Regions from separate parts of the Homo sapiens genome. Here region 2 is linked to region 1. The links are contacts of gene promoters, found by promoter capture Hi-C in human tissues and cell types (Jung and others, 2019). All regions are on one chromosome and are shown on one strand. Each heading gives the region's core, a stretch centred on a gene start or on the middle of the fragment in contact. The rest is flanking DNA. Distances are from core to core; before and after follow the strand shown. Region 1 holds the start of CCDC85C (coiled-coil domain containing 85C). Region 2 has its middle 4.0 kb from the start of EML1.

Evidence for each region. The method cuts DNA at HindIII sites, captures the fragments that hold promoters and counts their contacts. A contact is called where the count stands out against the background at its distance.
Region 2: a fragment that was not itself captured here is called in contact with the fragment with the promoter of CCDC85C in region 1 in 1 of the 25 tissues and cell types used here (mesendoderm cells).

What each region holds. Positions count from the first base shown.
Region 1 is chr14:99,602,228-99,605,456 of GRCh38, forward strand. CCDC85C (coiled-coil domain containing 85C) reads right to left here and starts at 1,980. Exons shown (of 6, transcript NM_001144995.2): 1 at 940-1,980. The coding sequence starts at 1,732. It also overlaps a transcript of HHIPL1 not described here. RefSeq lists enhancers at 175-828, 1,535-1,654 and silencers at 1,915-2,444, 2,585-2,724, 2,785-2,854, 3,035-3,184. The HindIII fragment of the contact is 22,433 bases long and covers 1-3,229 here.
Region 2 is chr14:99,787,728-99,791,031 of GRCh38, forward strand. It overlaps a transcript of EML1 not described here. Among named protein-coding and RNA genes, the nearest start is that of EML1, 4.0 kb to the right of the region's middle. RefSeq lists an enhancer at 1,904-2,043. The HindIII fragment of the contact is 8,796 bases long and covers 1-3,304 here.

The sequences.
Region 1 (3,229 bases), core at 730-3,229:
AGCAGGGGGCTGGGAGAGGGAGCAGGCTGCAAGCTCCCACAGCCCCAAGCTGGGGCCACCCTCTGCACTGGGCGCAGCAGTAACATGGGCGTAGAAGACAGAAGCTGACAGAGGCCAAAGTTCCTCCCACCCACACCCTGGTCACGGATGACCACGGCACTTCCTGTAAGGCGATCAACAGTTTATAAATCCCTTCAGAAGGTTTATCTCCACCTCAAACCCACGAGGCAGAGGTCATCATCTCCATTTCACAGACAAAGAAACTGAGGCACACAGAGGAGAAAAGCTAGAATCCGTTCCAAATACATCTCCCTCGGGAAAGTCTTAGAGTCTCGGCTGAGAAAGGTCCCAGGACTAGAAGGGCGGAATTTATGGCAAACAAGAAAGGCTCTGAGCCCCAGGCCTCTCCCCAACTGCCTCTGGGTCTCAAGCGGCTGCCTGTGCACCTTCCCAATCCCCACACCCCACTGCAGAACTCCAGCCACCGCACACACGTGGACGCTGCTTGGTTTGGAGGACACCTGTTGCTGCAAGAGGGGAAATTCACTTGCGCTCAAGGGGCCTTGTATCCTTTGCTGTTTAGAACTTCCCGCTACTAGGCAAGGATTTCCAAGGCTGGGATGAGGCGCCCACCGCCAGCCCAGCAGTGACAGACCCTAATTTTGGCAACTACACCCGCTAGAAACTTTTCTGGGACCGGACCGGCAGCAGGTTCTGAGCTGGACAAAAAGACGCTCCACCACTGAACCGGCCCACCACCGCCCAAAGCCCCACTTTGGGTGAGTGCGGGATCCCCTGGCCCAGGATCCATGACAGCTGGAGGAGTCTGGAGTGGCGGCCGCATGAGTGGGACAGCCAGGGACCACCTCCTCTCGCCGCAGCCTGGGAAAAGGGCTGCAGCCAGGGAGACCCGCGCTGCCCGGCCCGTGTAGTCCTTACCGTGCAGGCCGTTGGGGATGCTGCGGTGGTGCGGCGGCGCCGACAAGTCGTCCAGGGACCGACGTGTGGCTCCTGCCTTGCCGTCGGGGGCCTTGTGCGGCCCGGGGGGCAGCAGCGGGGGTGGGACGTGGTGGTGGTGGTCGGGGCTGCCGCCGCTGCCCGCGCTGGACGTACTGCTGCCGTCGCCCACGTCGCGGGCCCCCGCGCCGGGCGCGCCACCCGACAGCGGCCCGCTCAGGCTGGCCTGGCTGTCGATGGAGCTGCGGGAGCCGGCGCCGCCCCCGCCGCCGCCGCCACCGCTTGCGGCCCCCGTCGCCGCCAGTGCCGCGCGCTCCTCGTCCAGCAGCAGCACCAGCTCCTTGAGCTCCAGGTTCTCGCGCAGCAGGGCCTCCTGGCGCGCCTCGAGCTCGCGCAGCTTCTGCTGCGAGCGGGCCACCTCGTGCCACACGGCGCCGGCCGCGTGGCGCCCGAAGCGCTGCCACTCGCGCGCCAGCTTGCGCCCCTTCTGCCGGTCGTCGTCGAGGAAGCAGCAGAGCTCGCGCAGCTCCTGGTTGTCGTCCTGCAGCCGCTGGTTCACGTCCTTGAGGCCGCGGATCTCCAGCAGGTGCTGCTGCAGCCGCCGGTTCACGTCGCGCATCAGGCCGCCGTGCTCCAGCATGAGGCCCACCTTCTCGCCCTCGGCGCGCCGCAGCCGCCGCGCCAGCTCCTCCTTGCTCCAGCGCAGCAGCTCCTCGTCCGGCACCTGGCTCAGCTCCTCCGACGCCGCCGCCGCCGTCGCCGCGGGCTTAGCCATGGCGGGGCCGTCACCGCGGCATCGCCCTCGCCCTCGCCCGGCCGGCGCTTCCCCGCGCCGGGGCTCCGCTGGGCCGGTCCGCGCGCGGGCGGGGGGCGGCCGGGGGCGCGTGCGGCCCGCCCCGCGCCGCCTGGCGCGTCCTCTCGCCGCGCCCGCCGGGGCCGCCCGGGAGCCCGCGCGCCTCGGGGTTGACGAGCGGAGGCGGCTGCTGCGTCGGCGGCCGCGGTGCCGGGCGCTCTCAGGGTTCTGGAGAAGCAGGCGGAGGCCCGCCCCCGGCCCAGCTCCCGGAGCCCCCGCCGCCCCGCCCACCCCGGGCGGAGAGTGGGCGGGTCTCCGAGGCCCGGCCCCGCCCCCGAGGGCGACTGGGGAGCAGAGGCGCGGCCCCCGCCGTCCCCCTGCGCGGTGCGCCCGCCCGTCCAGTGCCCTCTCAGAGGCGCGTTCCGGCCGCGGTCCCGCCCTCCCGGCCGGGCGATTGGGCCGCTCCGGGGGTGTGCGGGAGGGGCGGGGCGCGCGCGGGGGAAGCTGCGGCGGTGGTACGGTCCATCCGCGGGGTTTCCGACCCCCGCCCGCGGCCGGCTCCCGGCGGTTCAAGTTTCTGCGCCCGGAGGACGCGGCCTTAGCCAATCCCAGGGCTACAGGGCGCTTTTAAAATGCAGGTACGGCTGCGGGGAGGGGGACGGTGGGAAAGGTAGGGCCGGGCTTCCCTTAAAGGCGACGCGCGAAAATAGCAGTCGAGCCCCCTCCCCGGCCCGCGTCCCCGGTCCTCTTCCCTCTCCCCAGATAAACAAATACCCACGATCCGGGCGACGGCGCCCCTTCTCCCTCCCGGGGGCACCAGAGTTCAGGGCAGTCGGAGACACAGCGAACAATAGGACTGTGACATGGGGGTCGCTCTTCCCCGCAGCAGGGCGGCTCTTTGTCCCCTTCCCTGCCCCCAGGCTCCTCCGCCCCCGTCCCCACCCGGGTCCCCTGCCGGAGCACGCGGCGGGGCTGCGTCTCCACTCCTAGCCCAGGGCTGAGCTAAACGCTGGCGTCCGCGCCCCTGCAGGGCCAGGGCCTTGCCAGCCGCGTCCCGCAGCGCGGTCAGTACTCTCTGCCCCGATGGGGCGAGAGCTCCGGGAACCTGCCCCCTGCCCGGAGCGGCGCTCGGAGCCCCGCTCCACCTCCGCTCACTCGACCGCTAAATCCCTGGGATTCGGGAGATAATCTGCAATTCGCGGGGTGGAAACCACTGGGAAGGGTGGGAAGGTCTCCCACTGGGGCCTGAACGCCGGGGTCCGGGGGCGCCGAGCCGGCCACAGAACTCCCCACCGGCGGCCTCGCGGGACCCCCGGGCTTCCCACTGCCTGTAAGTCTGTCTCGTTATCCTCCGGTCCCCAAAGCGCATTTACGGCGCGTCTACCGCCAGCAGGCGGGGCGGGGCGGGGCGGGGGGGGGTCCCTCCCCCGGAACCTGCAACGAGATCAAATCCGCGCACGCGACAGTGAGCGGCCCACG
Region 2 (3,304 bases), core at 542-3,041, 190 kb after region 1:
CTTCTGTGGCCCCTCTCCTTGGCTTGCAGGTGGCCATCTCCTCCCTGTGTCTTCACTTTATCTTCCCTCTGTGTGCATCTGTGTCCAAATTTCCCCTTCTTATAAGGACACCAGTCATATTGGATTCGGGCCCAGCCTAATGCCCTCATTTTAACTTGATTACATCTGTAAAGGCCCCATCTTCAAGTAAGGTCACATTCTGAGGTCCTGGGCATTAGGACTTCAACAGATGAATTTTTGCAGGGACACAGTTAAGCCCATGACATTAACTGAAGGTCAACTTTTCTCTGCTCTTAGAGTAAAATCAGAAGCCCCTGACAGGCTGTCCAAGGCCCGCTGCAAGCAGGGCCTCCCCATCTCCTACCCTAGCTTGCCTGATGTGGCTGCCCCTTGCTCTACCCACGGCTGTTCTGGTAGCTTCTTTTCCTCCTTATTCCAGTCCAGACCCTCAGAAATAATCTGAAATCCTTCCACCTAGCTTTGTTCCTTGGCGCTTATCATTTGTATTTATACAACTATCTGTACAATTATTATATGTCCAAATGTCTCTTAGATTGTGACCGTGACCCACAACAAGAAATGCCTTGTATTATACATCGCAACTCAGCACATGTAGGTACATTGTAAGTAAATACCAATGTTTCCAGCACAAATACTCGTTCTTACTATGCTCAGTGCAGTCCAAAATTGTCTATTCCATTTCATGTTAAAAACTGTGTTAGAATATACACAACAGCCAGGCATGGTGGTGTGTGTCTGTAGTTTCAGCTGCTTGGGAGGCTGAGGAGGGAGGATCGTTTGAGCCCAGGAGTTGGAGGCTCTAGTGTGCTCTGATTGCACTTGTGAATAGCCACTGCACTCCAACCTGGGCAACACATGGAGACTGTAAAATATCTCCCTAATATGTGTGTGTGTGTGTGTGTATGTGTACACACACGACATAAAAGTTACCATTGTAACCATCTTTAAGTGCCCAGTTATAAAGCATGAGGAGATTCACATTGTTCTGCTACCCACACCACCATTCATCTGCAGAACTTTCTCATCATTCCAAAGGGAAACTTTGCGCCCATTAAGCACTCACTTACTATTCCTTCCTCTCCCCAGCCCTTGGCAACCACCATTCCACTCTCTGTCTCTATGAATTTGACAACCCTAGGCACTTCGTGTAAGTGGAGTCATAGACTATTTGCGCTTTTGGGGACTGGTTTATTTCACGCTGCATAATGTCTTGATACATGCTGATAGCATGTATCAGAATTCCCTTCCTTTTTAGGATGAAATAAGATTCCACCCTATGGATGGACCACATTTTGTTTAACCATTCATCCATCGGTAGATACTCAGGTTGCTCCCACCCCTCGGCTATTGTGAATAATGCTGCTATGAACATGGGTGTATGAATATCTGTCCAAGTCCCTGCTTTCAACAATTTTGAGTACCCAGAAGTGGAATTTTCTATTTCTTTCTTTCTTTTTATTCATTTATTTATTTTTTTTGAGACAGCATCTTGCTCCATTGTCCAGGATAGAGTGCAGTGGCACGATCTCGGCTCATTGCAACCTCCACCTCCTGGGTTCAAGTGACTCTCATGCCTCAGCCTCCTGAGTAGCTGGGACTACAAGTGCTCACCTCTACGCCCAGCTAATTTTTGTATTTTTAGTAGAGATGGGGTTTCACCATGTTGGCCAGGCTGGTTTCGAACTCCTGACCTCAGGTGATCCACCCACCTCGGCTTCCCAAAGTGCTGGGATTACAGGCGTAAGCCACCATGCCTGGCCTCTATTTCATTTTAAACCTTGCCAATGATGACTCTTTAATTGACTTCACGGCTACCTGCAGTTCGGAAAGCACTGTGTTCTATGTGCTACATTCCCAGCCCCAAGCATAGGGCCTGGCACTGTGTAACTATTTTTGGTAGAGTGTTGGATTAAACAATAGATGCACAAGGCTGCACATTTCTGGGTGATTTTTAAAAATTGCCTTTCTATGAATAAAGGCTACAGAGCTTTCACTTTCCTTTCTCTTTTTCACACGTTGTACAAATGCTGCTATTAATTCCACTGAACACTGTGGTTATATTGTCCTACAGAGTACACATCATTTATTACAATGACAACATTTTTGGTGCTCAGGATATAAATTAACTCACAATGGCGTGGAATATCAGTCTGTTAAAATGTTTAGCAAAAACATCACACATTATTAATTTTCAGAGATTTTTCTTGAACTTTCCCCAAAGATCTTTTTTAATGCTGTGTAGATTATACCTAAGTGACTTAACATGCATATCATTGTAATTATTCTAAATTTAGCTTTTTTTTAGAGTAAGATTTTACCACTGTGGGAAAAACATAGCTGTTTAATACTCTAGGTTAAGAGAGCAATGATCTTCTTTATCATCTCAAAAGAAAGTGGACTGAGTTCTTAATTGTCTTATTTGTAACTTTAGTGGAAATAATATCTTCTAAGAAAATCTCCAGCTCAATTTGGCAGCTGAAGTTTTAAATATATGTCTCCTTTCCCATGTCTAAATTGTGGCCACCAAATATCATAACATTAAACATAAGGAATGCTAACATTCTTTTTTTCTTTTTAAGATCGGGTCTCACTCTGTTGCCCAGGCTGGAGTTGAGCATTGCCCCAGCTGCACTGTATGGAATGCAGTGGTGCAATCATAGCTCACTGCAGCCTCAACCTCCTGGGCCCAAGTCGTCCTCGCACCTCAGCCTCCCAAATAACTAGGACTACAGGCACACACCACCACACCCGGCTTTAAAGAAAACCATCTTCTAATTATTCATGATTATTACTTCCTTTTCAAGTTCAGAAATACCACACCTCAGCTTTTTATGCCAATCATCCAACATATCCTGAAGTATAAAACTGCAAAGTGGAATAGAGAGAGCATGAACACTGGAATAGACAGATGGGAAATGAGGAAGATGAAATGTGCATCTGGGTGTTAAGTCTCACCCTTTGAAAGCCGCTTCTCCATAGCACCTGCCTGCTGCCTTAGAGAGGCAGAGAACCCACCTGTGCCAGGCGGGCGCAAGAGGACACTTTACCTGGCCCTCTGCCAACTTTGGCCCCTCCCCCCATTTCCTTTCCCTGCCAAAGTTTTCTTTTTTTCTTTTCCTTTTTTTTTGTGACAGGGTCTTACTCTGTCATCTAGGCTGGAGTGCAGTGGTGTGATCTTGGCTCACTGCAACCTCTACCTCCTGGGCTCAGGTGATTCTCCCACCTCAGCTTCCCAAATAGCTAGGACTATAGGTGCACACCACCATGTCTGGCTAATTTTTTG